3 separate regions of the Homo sapiens genome follow, and all the other regions are linked to region 1. Evidence: promoter capture Hi-C in 16 types of primary human blood cells and fetal thymus (Javierre and others, 2016). All regions are on one chromosome and are shown on one strand. Each heading gives the region's core, a stretch centred on a gene start or on the middle of the fragment in contact. The rest is flanking DNA. Distances are from core to core; before and after follow the strand shown. Region 1 overlaps UBE2G2 (ubiquitin conjugating enzyme E2 G2). Region 2 holds the start of TRAPPC10 (trafficking protein particle complex subunit 10). Region 3 holds the start of PWP2 (PWP2 small subunit processome component).

Evidence for each region. Contacts are between HindIII fragments. The CHiCAGO score rates a contact against its expected background, and 5 or more counts as called.
Region 2: a contact is called between the fragment with the promoter of TRAPPC10 here and a fragment that was not itself captured in region 1, in 1 of 17 cell types (naive B cells). The highest score is 5.9, in naive B cells.
Region 3: the fragment with the promoter of PWP2 here is called in contact with a fragment that was not itself captured in region 1 in 1 of 17 cell types (naive B cells); the score reaches 6.1 in naive B cells.

What each region holds. Positions count from the first base shown.
Region 1 is chr21:44,793,193-44,796,997 of GRCh38, reverse strand. The region is part of intron 1 of UBE2G2 (ubiquitin conjugating enzyme E2 G2); the gene reads left to right. Among named protein-coding and RNA genes, the nearest start is that of UBE2G2, 6.7 kb to the left of the region's middle. RefSeq lists an enhancer at 3,701-3,790. The HindIII fragment of the contact is 4,014 bases long and covers 1-3,736 here.
Region 2 is chr21:44,010,724-44,014,528 of GRCh38, reverse strand. It overlaps TRAPPC10 (trafficking protein particle complex subunit 10), which reads right to left and starts at 2,220. Exons shown (of 23, transcript NM_003274.5): 1 at 1,969-2,220. The coding sequence starts at 2,035. RefSeq lists enhancers at 716-765, 786-845 and silencers at 1,396-2,065, 2,216-2,595. The HindIII fragment of the contact is 3,568 bases long and covers 1-3,163 here.
Region 3 is chr21:44,105,501-44,109,305 of GRCh38, reverse strand. It overlaps PWP2 (PWP2 small subunit processome component), which reads right to left and starts at 1,907. Exons shown (of 21, transcript NM_005049.3): 1 at 1,872-1,907; 2 at 210-322. The coding sequence starts at 1,889. TRAPPC10 (trafficking protein particle complex subunit 10) reads right to left here. Exons shown (of 23, transcript NM_003274.5): 23 at 2,754-3,805. RefSeq lists silencers at 1,871-2,254, 1,845-2,361. The HindIII fragment of the contact is 7,342 bases long and covers 1-3,805 here.

The DNA.
Region 1 (3,805 bases), core at 480-2,979:
ACCGTGAAGGATCCAATAATAACATAAGGCTCAAAAGCAGTCAGTGAAGGCAGGATGGGGGTGGTCAGAGAGATTCAACATATGACAAGATCTCTACCTTCTGTGGCTGGCTGTGAAGATGGAAGAAGGAGCCATGACCTAAGGAAGGCGGGCAGCCTCAAGAAGCTGAGAATGATCCCAGACCAACAGACCCGTGGAAGTGAATTCTGTCAGCAACCTCAATGAACTTGGAGTGGCAGCCCTGGTGAGACTCTGAGCAGAGAACTAGCTGGCCCATGCTGTGTCCAGACTTCTGACGCTTGGAAACTCTGAGATCATCAATGAGTATTGTTTTAAATCACTAAATTTGTGGTAATTTGTTACAGCAGTGACAGAAGATGAATACAGTGTGTTATTGAGGGGACTTTGTTTTTCCTGTATCTTAATAATGTGATAAAATTTAGTGGGTTTTTTTTGTGTATCATTTACTGGTTTTTTTTGTGTGTGTATCTTAACATCTAGTTTGTCCTCATAACGTATTTTAAGGTAGCACATTCCAGTGTAAAGGTGGACTTGACAGAATCAATCTCTACATAGAAGGGGTTTAGATAAATTTGGTTAGATGTTCATGCACACTTTATTGTATTTGGGAGTAGTCATATAACTGCAGAAATTCAGAGGTGGTGGGACCTTGGCTATGATTCTGTTCAAGCCCCCTAATTTTACAGATTTTATGGAATTGAGCAACAGACAAGATGATTTTGCCTAGGTTCATAAACAGGAAAAAAGGAGAGCCAGGAAAGAACTCAATTGTTGTAAACTGCTGTCTTGTCTTGATGTTCTGTCTTCATTCATCATCCAGCCTTTCCTAGGAGTGTCAGAGATAGACCCAGGTAGAAGTGGGCTGCCCATGGGGGGCTTAGCACAACAGAAATTTATTCTTTTACTGTTCTGGAGGCCAGACATCTAAAATAAAGGTGTTGATGGGGTCATTCTTCCTCTTGAGGGCTCGAGGGGAGAACCCTTACTTGCCTCTTCCAGCTAATGGTGATTGTTGGTCATCCTTGGCGTTTATTGTCATTCTCTTGCTTGAGGTAGTGTAATTCTAATCTCTGCCTCCATCTTCGCATGGCCATCTTCCCCCTGTGTGCATGTCCTAAATGTACATGTCTTTCTGTGGATATATGCTTTTATTTCTCCTGTGTAAATAACCAGGGTTATAATGGGAAGTGTGTGTTTAATTTTTAAAGAAACGGCCAGTTTTCCTCTAGTTCACATTTCCCTAGCAGTGTATTAAGTGTTCCCGTTGCCCCACCTCCTTGCTGACACTTCGCGTGGCCAGTTGTTTTTTGTTTTCTTTTTTCTTTCTTTCTTTCTTTTTTTTTTTGAGACAGGTTCTCACTCTGTCACTCGGGCTAGAGTGCAGTGGTGTAGTCATGGCTCATGGCAGCCTCTGCCTCCTAGGCTCAAGCAATCCTGCCACCTCAGCCTCCCAAGAAGCTGGGATTACAGTTGCATGCCACCTCGCTTAGCTAATTTTTGTATTTTTAGTAGAGATAGGGTTTCGCCATGTTGCCCAGGCTTGTCTCGAACTCGTGGGCCCAAGCAATCTGCCCGTCTTGGCCTTCCAAAGTGTTGGAATTACAACTGCGAGCCACTGCGCCCTTCCAGTTTTAAAAATTTTAGCCATTCTATTGGGTGTATAGCAGTCTTACTGAGGTTTTGTTTTATTTATTTATTTTTTTTTATTTTTTATTTTTGAGGTGCTCTCTCTGTCATCCAGGCTGGAGTGCAGTGGCATGATCTCAGCTCACTGCAACATCTGCCTCCTGGCTTCAAGTAATTCTCCTGCCTCAGCTTCCCAAGTAGCTGGGGCTATAGGCGCGTGCCACCACACCTGGCTAATTTTTGTATTTTTAGTAGAAACGGGATTTCACTATGTTGGCTAGGCTGGTCTCTAACTCCTGACCTCAGGAGTTTGCCTCGCCTCCCAAAGTGCTGGGATTTACGGGCATGAGCCACAGCCCCCGGCCCTTACTGAGGTTTTCATTTGCATTTCCATAAGACTCGTGATGTTGAGCATCATTTCACGTGTTTATTTGCCATCCATATGTCTTTTTAGATAAAGTGACTTGAGTCTTTGCTTCTTTCAAAATTGTGTTGATTTTCTTAAGTTTTAGTTCTTTGGCTGGGCGCAGTGGCTCACGCCTGTAATCCCAGCACTTTGTGGGCTGAGGTGGGCGGATCACGAGGTCAGGAGATGGAGACCATCCGGGCTAACACGGTGAAACCCCCTCTCTACTAAAAATACAAAAAATTAGCTGGGCATGGTGGCGGACCCCTGTAGTCCCAGCTACTCAGGAGGCTGAGGCAGGAGAATGGCGTGAACTTGGGAGGTGGAGCTTGCAGTGAGCCGAGATCACGCCACTGCACTCCAGCCTGGGTGACAGAGCGAGACTCCGTCTCAAAAAAAAAAAAAAACAAAAAAAGAAGGGTTTTTATTATTTCGATGAAATTCAATTATTGACTTTTAAAATATTTCTTGCTATTGTGTTATATTTAAGAAATAACTGCCAAACATCAGGTGGCAGTAGGATTTTCTCCTATGATTTCTTCTAGATGTTTTATAGTTTCAGCTCTTGTATTTAGGTTTGGGATCCATATCAAAGTTTTCCATATGGTATGAGATAAAGGCCAAGGTTTATTTGTAAATTATTTGTAAATGGCAGTGCAGTTGTTTCAGCACTGTGTTTGCTAGGGCTGCTCTACCACACAGGCTGGGCACGGCTTAAACAACAGAAATGTATTTCCTCATAGTCCTGGAGGCTGGAAGTCCAAGATCAAGGATAGGGCAGGGCTGGTTTCTTCTGAGGCTCTGTCCTCTATGCCTGTGTCCTCATCTCTTCTTAAAAGGATATTAGTCAGATTGGATTAAGGTCCACCCTAATGACCACATTAATTTTAATTACCTCTTAAAGGCCCTAGTCACACACTTTTCTCCACCTTCTTTTTTTTCATGTAATATGTCCTGAAGTTTGTTCTGTACTAGCATGTAGAGGTATTTATAGCTGCAAAGTACCCCACTGGTATATGTATCATAATTTGACTGGTCCTCTGTTGATAGACACTCAAGTTCTTTTTAATTTCTTTTTGTTTTTACAAATAGTCCTGAAATGAATAGCCTGTGTATACATTTTTTATCTTCACCAATGTTATCTGTGGGATGGATTCCTAGAAATGGAATTGCTGGGTCAAAGGTTATATTTCACTTTGTGTGGTAGCTATTTGTTAAGCCACTATTTTAAGTGGCAAGGAATGGCCTCTGAAAATTTCCCTGATACCAAGATTCGTCTCTTTTTTTGAACTTGTTTCTTATCAGTAAACATGAAACTGTATATTATTTTGTGTACGCGTGTATATGCTTTGGAAGCAAAAAACAAAATGGAAAAAATAAGTGCCCTGAACCATTCCCTCCAGCCTCTGAACTCATTTGCTGCACTTCTTTATTGACCAGTAGAGGCCACTGTTGAATAACAAAGCTGGCGGGAAGGCCAGCGCACACCCGGGCAGGTCTCTGTGCTGAGCCTGCATTGCCAGGAGCAGGTCTGGAGCTGCAGTTTTTAGACCACCCTTTCCCCTCCCTAAGGGAGGGTGTCACGCAGGGGAGTGCCAAAGGGGAACTCCAGATGAAGAATAAAGCCAGCTCTCTTTGGTACGAGCTCTTCTTCATGGTCCCACGAAGGTGATTTGTAAAGCTTTTGTGTGTTCTGCTGCCAGGCCTCTACTTAGTTGCCCACTGACATTGTGTTTCTCCCGCACCCCACCT
Region 2 (3,805 bases), core at 971-3,470, 780 kb after region 1:
GAGGCCGAGGAAGGAGAATCGCTTGAACCCGGGAGGCAGAGGTTGCAGTGAGCCAAGATCATGGCCGAGATCATGCCACTGCACTCCAGCCTGGGCGACAGAGAAAGACGCCGTCTCAAAAAAGAAGAAGAAGGAAAAAAAAAAATTCACTCTGCTGCTCAAAACACAGGAAAAAACCCACCACCAAGATGACAATCCAATAAATCTGTAGGAAAGAAAACCGCATCCTTCAGCTGTCCGTGATGCACGCATGTACAAAACTAAACATTAAATATCTCCAACACTGGCAACCAGATAACAAACTTTACCCCTTTAGTTATGGTTGAATCCAATAGAGCTTAGGAACTTTCTCCTCAGAAATGTATTTACATAATGCCTATAAATACATATTGCTATTGAAATGTAAGCAAGCTAGGAGGTAGAAGATAAAATTAGATGTGTGGATGTCCGTACAGGCAATGAATGTGTATCCAGCATTCACAACGTGCACAGCACTTTAGGAGAAAAATGTTCAACCTCTGGAAGACAGTAAAACTTAACATGAACTGCGCATGGCTTCATCTTCCCTGAGCACTGGGAAAGCCCCTGGGAAATTGCAGGGCCTGCAGACCAGCTCTACCCACATCTGCCCTCTGGGGCTGAAGGTGCAGAGTAGGAAAAGACTTTCAGCTGACAAATATTCTGGGGAGGAAAAAAGACAGCTACTGCTGAACTATGCAAGTCTCCAATTTTAAATGAGACACAGTCCACTTCCCTAAGAAAAGTCTATCATCTCGTCTAGGTCTCTGTAGAAAAAAAAGAGAGAGGAGGAGAGGAGAAGAGACAAAATAAAGCAAAAGGAAGGAAAGAAATAAGTCTATCACCTAAAGCTGAAGCAACAAAATTCAACCTTCAATATACAGTTTCTCAGGGATCTAACAGGAAGGAACACAGCAGGTGCACACCCGCTGACAGAGTGAGAGGGAAACAGGAGTTCTCACGACATACAGTCTACTGTGGCCTGGGCACCCAGATTTTGCAACAGAGAGTGCTTCCTTTCCAAGCACGAAAGACAACTAGAAAAAAACTAACTGCATACATGCATGAAAATACAGAATACTGTCAAAGGTCAAAAATCGTAACAGTCTGAAACACCTCTCTGCAAGTCACCTAAAAGCCAACCAACAAACATTTCAATACTTCCCATAAGCTCACTGTTCTTAACCGTATTTAACTCTGGAGAGTCACACTTCTAAAATTTAGGGAACATTTTTCCCGTAACAGAAAAACAGTTCCTTTGTGTATGCATTAAAGGAGGGGTGCGGGGAGGACACGACACCCAAGAGGCACCAGGTGTCCGTAGTGTAGACTCGAGCGGGAGGCTGTTCATGGGGAGCAAGCTCGCCTAAGCGCCCGAGCCTCGGCTTTCTCATCCGTAAAATGGTTTGAGTGCGCGGCGGGGAAGTGTGTAGGAGCGAAAGCAGTCCCGGCGGCTCTGCCTGACGCTTCACCCCGCAACAAACTGTTCCTACTTCGCCAACGCCTGCAACTCTGCGAGCCCCCAAGGACTTCCCCGTAGTCGGGGAAAGGGCGCCCGCGGGCAAAACCGCCCGGCGGAAGAGGCCGGGGCCCCCAGGTCCCGGGCGCGCGGCTCAACGGGGGCGGGACGGGGCGGTGGCAGCCCCCGCTCCTCGCCCTCGACGCCGGCGCGCGCCCAGTCCCGGGCAGAGTCCGCCGGGTTCCACCGGCTCCAACTGCAGCCGGCCCGAGGGCGCCCCCCAGGGGTCAGAGGTCGCCCGGCGGGAAGGTCAGAGGGCGTCCCCGAAAAGTCAGAGGGCCCCGCCTCAGCCGCAGCCCTGGTCACACCTCCAGGAAGCGGCCCAGCCCGGAGCGCGCCGGGGGCTGAAGGTCTGGGGGCGCCGGGTGCATAACGCCAGGGCCCGGGCCCGCCCAACGACCGCCGCGCCCTCCCCGCCTCCGGGCACTCACAGGTGACGATGGGCTTGTTCTCCATGGTGTAGATCACCGGCGGCAGCGGCTCCTCAGAGGCGTCCATGGGCGTCCGGCGTCACCGGCCCGGCCCCCCGCGCCCCATGGGCAGCCCCGAGGCCGCGCCGGGCCCAGCCGGAGCCCGAGCCTGAGCGGCGCCGCCCGCCCGGCCGCGCCAGGCAGCTCCGGAGCCGGTTGCGCCGCAGCTGCCGCCCGCTGCTGCCGGCCTCAGCCACTTCCGGCCTCGGCGCCGCCGCATGACCATTTCCGGGGCGCGCGAGGCTTCACGGGGCGGGTCTTCGCCGCGCTTCGCCTCCGACGGAAGTGCGCCCGGGCCGGCCGCGCGGGACCGGGAGGTGGGAAGTGGGAGGCGGAGCGGGGCTCCCGGGACACGTCCATCTTCCTCCCTCGGCAGTGGGCGCCCCGCTGGGCCCTGCGCCGGAGCTGAGGCCAGGACTCGGCAGGCGGGCCTCGCGCGCGGTGAGCGAGCCTGGACGCTCCCGGACCAGAGACGCCGGCCTCGCTGCCCTCGCGTTCCCCGCAGCTCGGGCGTCCCGCGGCGGGCCGCTGCTCCCCGGCCGGGCTCCTTATCGCGCTGGGGGCTCCCGCAGGCCCTCGCCGCTGAGTGTCCCCGGCGCGTGCCTTCCGCCTACCGCTGGGCTCTTCCCGTTTCCCTCACGCCGCAAATGTTTTTGTGGGGACCTGGCCCTCGGCATTTCGGAATGCCACAAAATAAACCTCACACTTAACTGCATATGGGCTTCTTGTGCACGTAAACGGGGGGGGCGGGGCGCGGGTGTTTCTTTTTCTTTTTTTCTTTGGAGCAGGGTCTTCCTCAGTTGGCTCAGGCTGGAGTGCAGTGGCGGGACACGGCTCACTGCAGCCTCCACCTTCCAGGCTCAAGCGATCCTCCCGCCTTGTTTCCCCCCGCCCCACCCCCTCCGCCAGTAACTGGGACCACGGGGGCAGCCACCACGCCCAGCTAATTTTTTTCTTTTCTTTTCTTTTGTCGGGATCTCACTATGTTTTCCAGGCTGGTTTCAAACTCCTGGGCTCAAGTGATCCTCCAGCCTTGGCCTCCCAAAGTGTTGAGATTACAGGTGTGAGCCATCACTCCCAGCCATAAAATGACAAAAACTGTCAACCAAAAATAATCAAAAGGGTCAGAATCTAGAGTTTAGTCAAATGCGAAGCTTGAGGCGCCCAGGAAACATTATAAAGAATGGAAGTCAGTGTTCTCAAACGTAGAAATTTGGGGTCGTTTCTATAGCCAGCGTCTCGGGAAGCCTAACCGAATTTCAGCGTCTTTTCTGTATAAGGCCTAATGCATAGTTACAACAGTCTGTTTAGTCGAGGTGGTCTTTTTCTTTGGGGACCCACTGAAGATGAAACAGTCCTGGGGTCTCTGTGCTGTCTGGTCTAAGTCAGGTACAGGACAATGGAGACAGCTAATCTGTAACAAAAATCACCAAATGGGAAGGGGGAGACCTGGTCTTTCTTAGTCATTAACAGCAGCAGTCCCCAACCTTTTTGGCACCAGGGACCAGTTTCATAGAATGCAGTTTTTCCACAGACAAAGTTGGGGTGGTTTCAGGACGATTCAAACACATTTCATTTATTGTGCACTTTATTATTTTTATGTTGTAATATGTAATAAAATACAACTTCCCATAATGTGGAATCAGTGGGAGCCCTGAGCTTGTTTTCCTGCAACTGGACGGTCACATCTAGGGATGATGGAAGCCAGGGACACATCATTAGGGATGAGATTCTCATAAGGAGCACGCAACCTAGACCCCTCCAATGTGCAGTTCACAACAGGGTTCACCCTCCTAGG
Region 3 (3,805 bases), core at 658-3,157, 690 kb after region 1:
ACAACGAAGAACTGGGTCTGGCTGCCAATTTCCACAACTGATCTGCTGACCCTAGTCTGTCCTGTAGTCCTGTCCTGGGCTCCCTTAATTAACGGGTGCACCATTAAAAGGAAGGCACAGAAGACACTATCAGTTTTCATATGTTACTTAAAAAATGGTGATAATAGTAATCAGTATCACTATTATGAATACCACTTTCACATACTTACTTTTTAAGGTCAAATACAGTGACTCTATTGCCCACGGGACTGATAACTGAATTTCCATCGCAGGTAAAATTTAGGTTCCCACGCCGGTACACCGTACCCAGCAAATTTGAAAACTGTGAAGAAAACAAAATTGTCTTAACACAAAGAAAACAGTCGACTCCCAGAAAAGCACTAAGTGAGGCATCTGGGCAGAGAGATGGCATAGAGAACCCCACCTTGGGGGCCCGTTCACCTTTCCTGGGTAAGAGAGGAAGAAGTGAGCCTGATCCTCAGGAGACCAGAGGAGCCCGGGCGGCCCCAAGCTCCCACAGAGATGGGTAAGATGCCCCTGTGAGCACTGAGGAAGCCTCCCAAGACAGGAGGCGTCTGCCAGGTGAAGAGGGGCATGGAGCCCACACTTCACCAAGAAAAAAGCTGCAACAATGGAACAGCACCCCAAAAGTGCTTAGAACTCAGGGCTTCCAGAAGTGTGGTAAGCCAGCATCCTATTTACTAACTCACGAGCACGAGCGTTCACTGGAGACTGCCATGCGCACAGACACGCACACCTTATATTCTCTCTCTAGCAGGAGGGGGATGAGAAGTGTGGGAGCAGGGGCTACTTTAGACGGTGGTCACGGAGAGGCACCTGGAAGGGTCACCTGAGCTGGAATCTAAATGGGAAGGCACCAGCCAGGCCCTGAAGCTGTGAGTGGGCAGCGCCCTCAGGACCTCAGGGAGGAGCTTGGTCAGCAGAAGGACTTTAAGCGGCCAGGCAGGCTCCAAGGCACATTTTTTGCCACCTTGCAGTAGGAATGTGGAGCGGATGAAGTCCTGGCCTGTGAGGACGTGGATATGGTTTCTGGTTTGGTGCTGGGCACACAGCGGTGGCTCCACCAGCACAGGGGACACAGGAGCAGCACTCTGAGGGGCCAGTACCATGCCCAGTTTCGGACAGGACAAGTGTAGTACACGGTGGGCTCAGCAGCAGGCGGCCCGTGCAACCCTGGAAGCGCAACGGTCAGGGCCACTGTGGGAAACACAGGCGTCCCCATAACCGGCCAGCTGTAGCAAACGCTTCAGAGACCCCCAGGCCGGCTCCACGGCCCCCTCTTATTACCTGTCTCACCCGCCTCCTGCACTTCACATCTGGGACAAGTCTTCCCTGGCTCTCAAAGCTGAGGGCGTCCGCCTCAGGAATTCCCTCCGGCCTCGGGAAACAGAGCTCACACCTGGGTTCCCCGCCCTTCCGCTCACCTGGACGCTCGCTCGTTAGGGACCAGTCCCGGGCCCCGGGTCCCTGCTGTTCTCACCCCGCCTGCGCGCGCCCGCGTCCCCGCCCCGTCCCACCTCCTCATCCCTCCCGAGGGTGCTGTGCCCTCCCCGACTGCACCAACTCCAGCCTTTAGGTTGGGCCATACTCAGGTTAAAAATATCCCGGGACCCCGACAAATGTCCCTGTTCCCTCCGAGAAGCCGTCGGCGCCTCCGTCCCAGCTCTCCCAGGAGCCCCACCACAGCCCCGCGTCCCCGAGGCCACGGGCGCGCAGACAGCCGGCGACCCCCACGCGGCCAGACGCCGCAAAAGCAGACCACGCGCCCCCAGCCCGCCCGGAGCCAGCTCAGGCGCCGTCCACCGGAAGAGCCGCGCCGATCCAACAGACCGCCCGCCGCCCGCGCTCACCCGGTAAGCGAACTTCATCACGGCCGTCGCACGTGTGCCGCAGCTCAACCCGGCGGCCGCCCACAGAGACACTTCCCGGGGGTCCGCGCGGCACCGCCCACAGCACGCACTTCCGGGAAGCGACGGCGTGCACCGCCCACAGCGCGCGCGCCCGGGACGGGGTCGCGCACCACCGTCCGCAGCGGCCCAGGAGGCAGGAGGAGCTGCGTCGCCCTCGCCCCGCCCCGAGGCGGAGTTTGAACGCGAGGCCCAACCCCTCCCAAGGCGGGGGCCTTCTCCGGGCCCCGCCCACACCCCGGAGCCACACTGCAGGGCGCCTCTTAGGCGCGCTCCAGCGCTGGGCGCGCTCCGCACGGACGCCCAGCCTGGCACAGCAGCGTCCACAACATGAGAGCGCTGCACACCCAAATGTCTTCGTTCTTGTGAACTGTTGGGTAAGGAATTATGAATAAAGTCCCGAATGCTGGCCGGTGCGGTGGCTCACGCCTGGGAGACTGAGGCGGGTGGATGACCTGAGGTCAGCAGTTCGAGACTAGCCTGGCCAACATGGTGAAACATCATCTCTACTAAAGTATAAAAATGAGGCGCATGCCTGTAGTCCCAGCTACTCGGGAGGCTGAGGCAGGAGAATGGCTTGAACCTGGGAGGCGGAGGCTGCAGTGAGCCCAGATCGCGCCATTGCACTCCAGCCTAGGCAACAGAGCATGACTGTCTCAGAGAAAAAAAAAAAAAAAAAAAAAAAAATAATCCGAATGTTTCCCAAAAGGCAAATAATCTATGCCCAAGAGTCAGGAACAAGGACTAGGGAGATAAAACAATAAAATCTTCACATTACATACTGTTGTCACACCATGTCGCAGCAAAAGATCCAGTGCAAAATAGTTTCTTCTTAAAATGTGTATTTTCAGAATTACAATGCTTACATTTTAAAGTCTTAATACAATGGTTTTAATCTAACAATATATTACATAATATGAAAAATGACTTTTCATAGTAAACCATGAAAATGGAATACCTGCAGTGTCAAAGTCACCAACTTGTCACCTTTTCCAGTCACAGAATCCCAACACATTGTATTAATGATGACTGGGGGGGGTCTTACAGCCTGATGTATATAGGATGAATAAATGTAGAGAAAGGAGCATTTTCATGAAAAATAAAATTTAAAAACCAGGTAGGATTTATTTTAAAGAACACAGTTGAAAGTAAAACATTTACATCAGCCCAGTTTGCCCTTTTGTAAAAAGTAGTATAGCTTTTCATTTTATATACAAACCTGCAGTGTCTGATTTCATTTTAAAACTTAATTTTAAGCACTAAAGAAAATTTGAATAGAAGCCTGTGTGTATTTTCTCTGCTAATTCTGTATGGGATATCTGGCATCTCCACTAAGAGTAATTAATACAGGATCTGACCTTCCTAGGCTGTGCTGACAATGGAACTGTTGTAGGTAAAGTCATTTTCAGATTAAATACAACAATTTCCACATTAGAATCAGAAGAGTTATAATTTTTCCAATCATAGGACATCCCATGAAATTCACAAAAATTATAACTTATTTTATTTTCCATTTGACAGTATTTACATGTTCCACAGATATTTGTAAAACGGCTGCAAATTCCTTGCTTTTCAGATACACATTGCATATCTGGCTTCACAATTATTTAACATCTCTTTATCAACAAAACCAGCTTGTCTCAAACACATACACCTTACTTTAGATAAAAACAATAAACATCCAATTACAGTTACTCTTTTAGGACTTTTATGATGAACATTAAGAAAAAAATGACAATTTTGGGTGACATTCTTCTTTGTCTTAAAGAGGCAGAAGCATTCATGTAACATAGTTTGCAAAAGATCTTTTGGGTAATTAGGGGGAAAAAAACTGATAAATTTGATTTCATTTCATTTCCAGGCAATTAAGCGCCGTA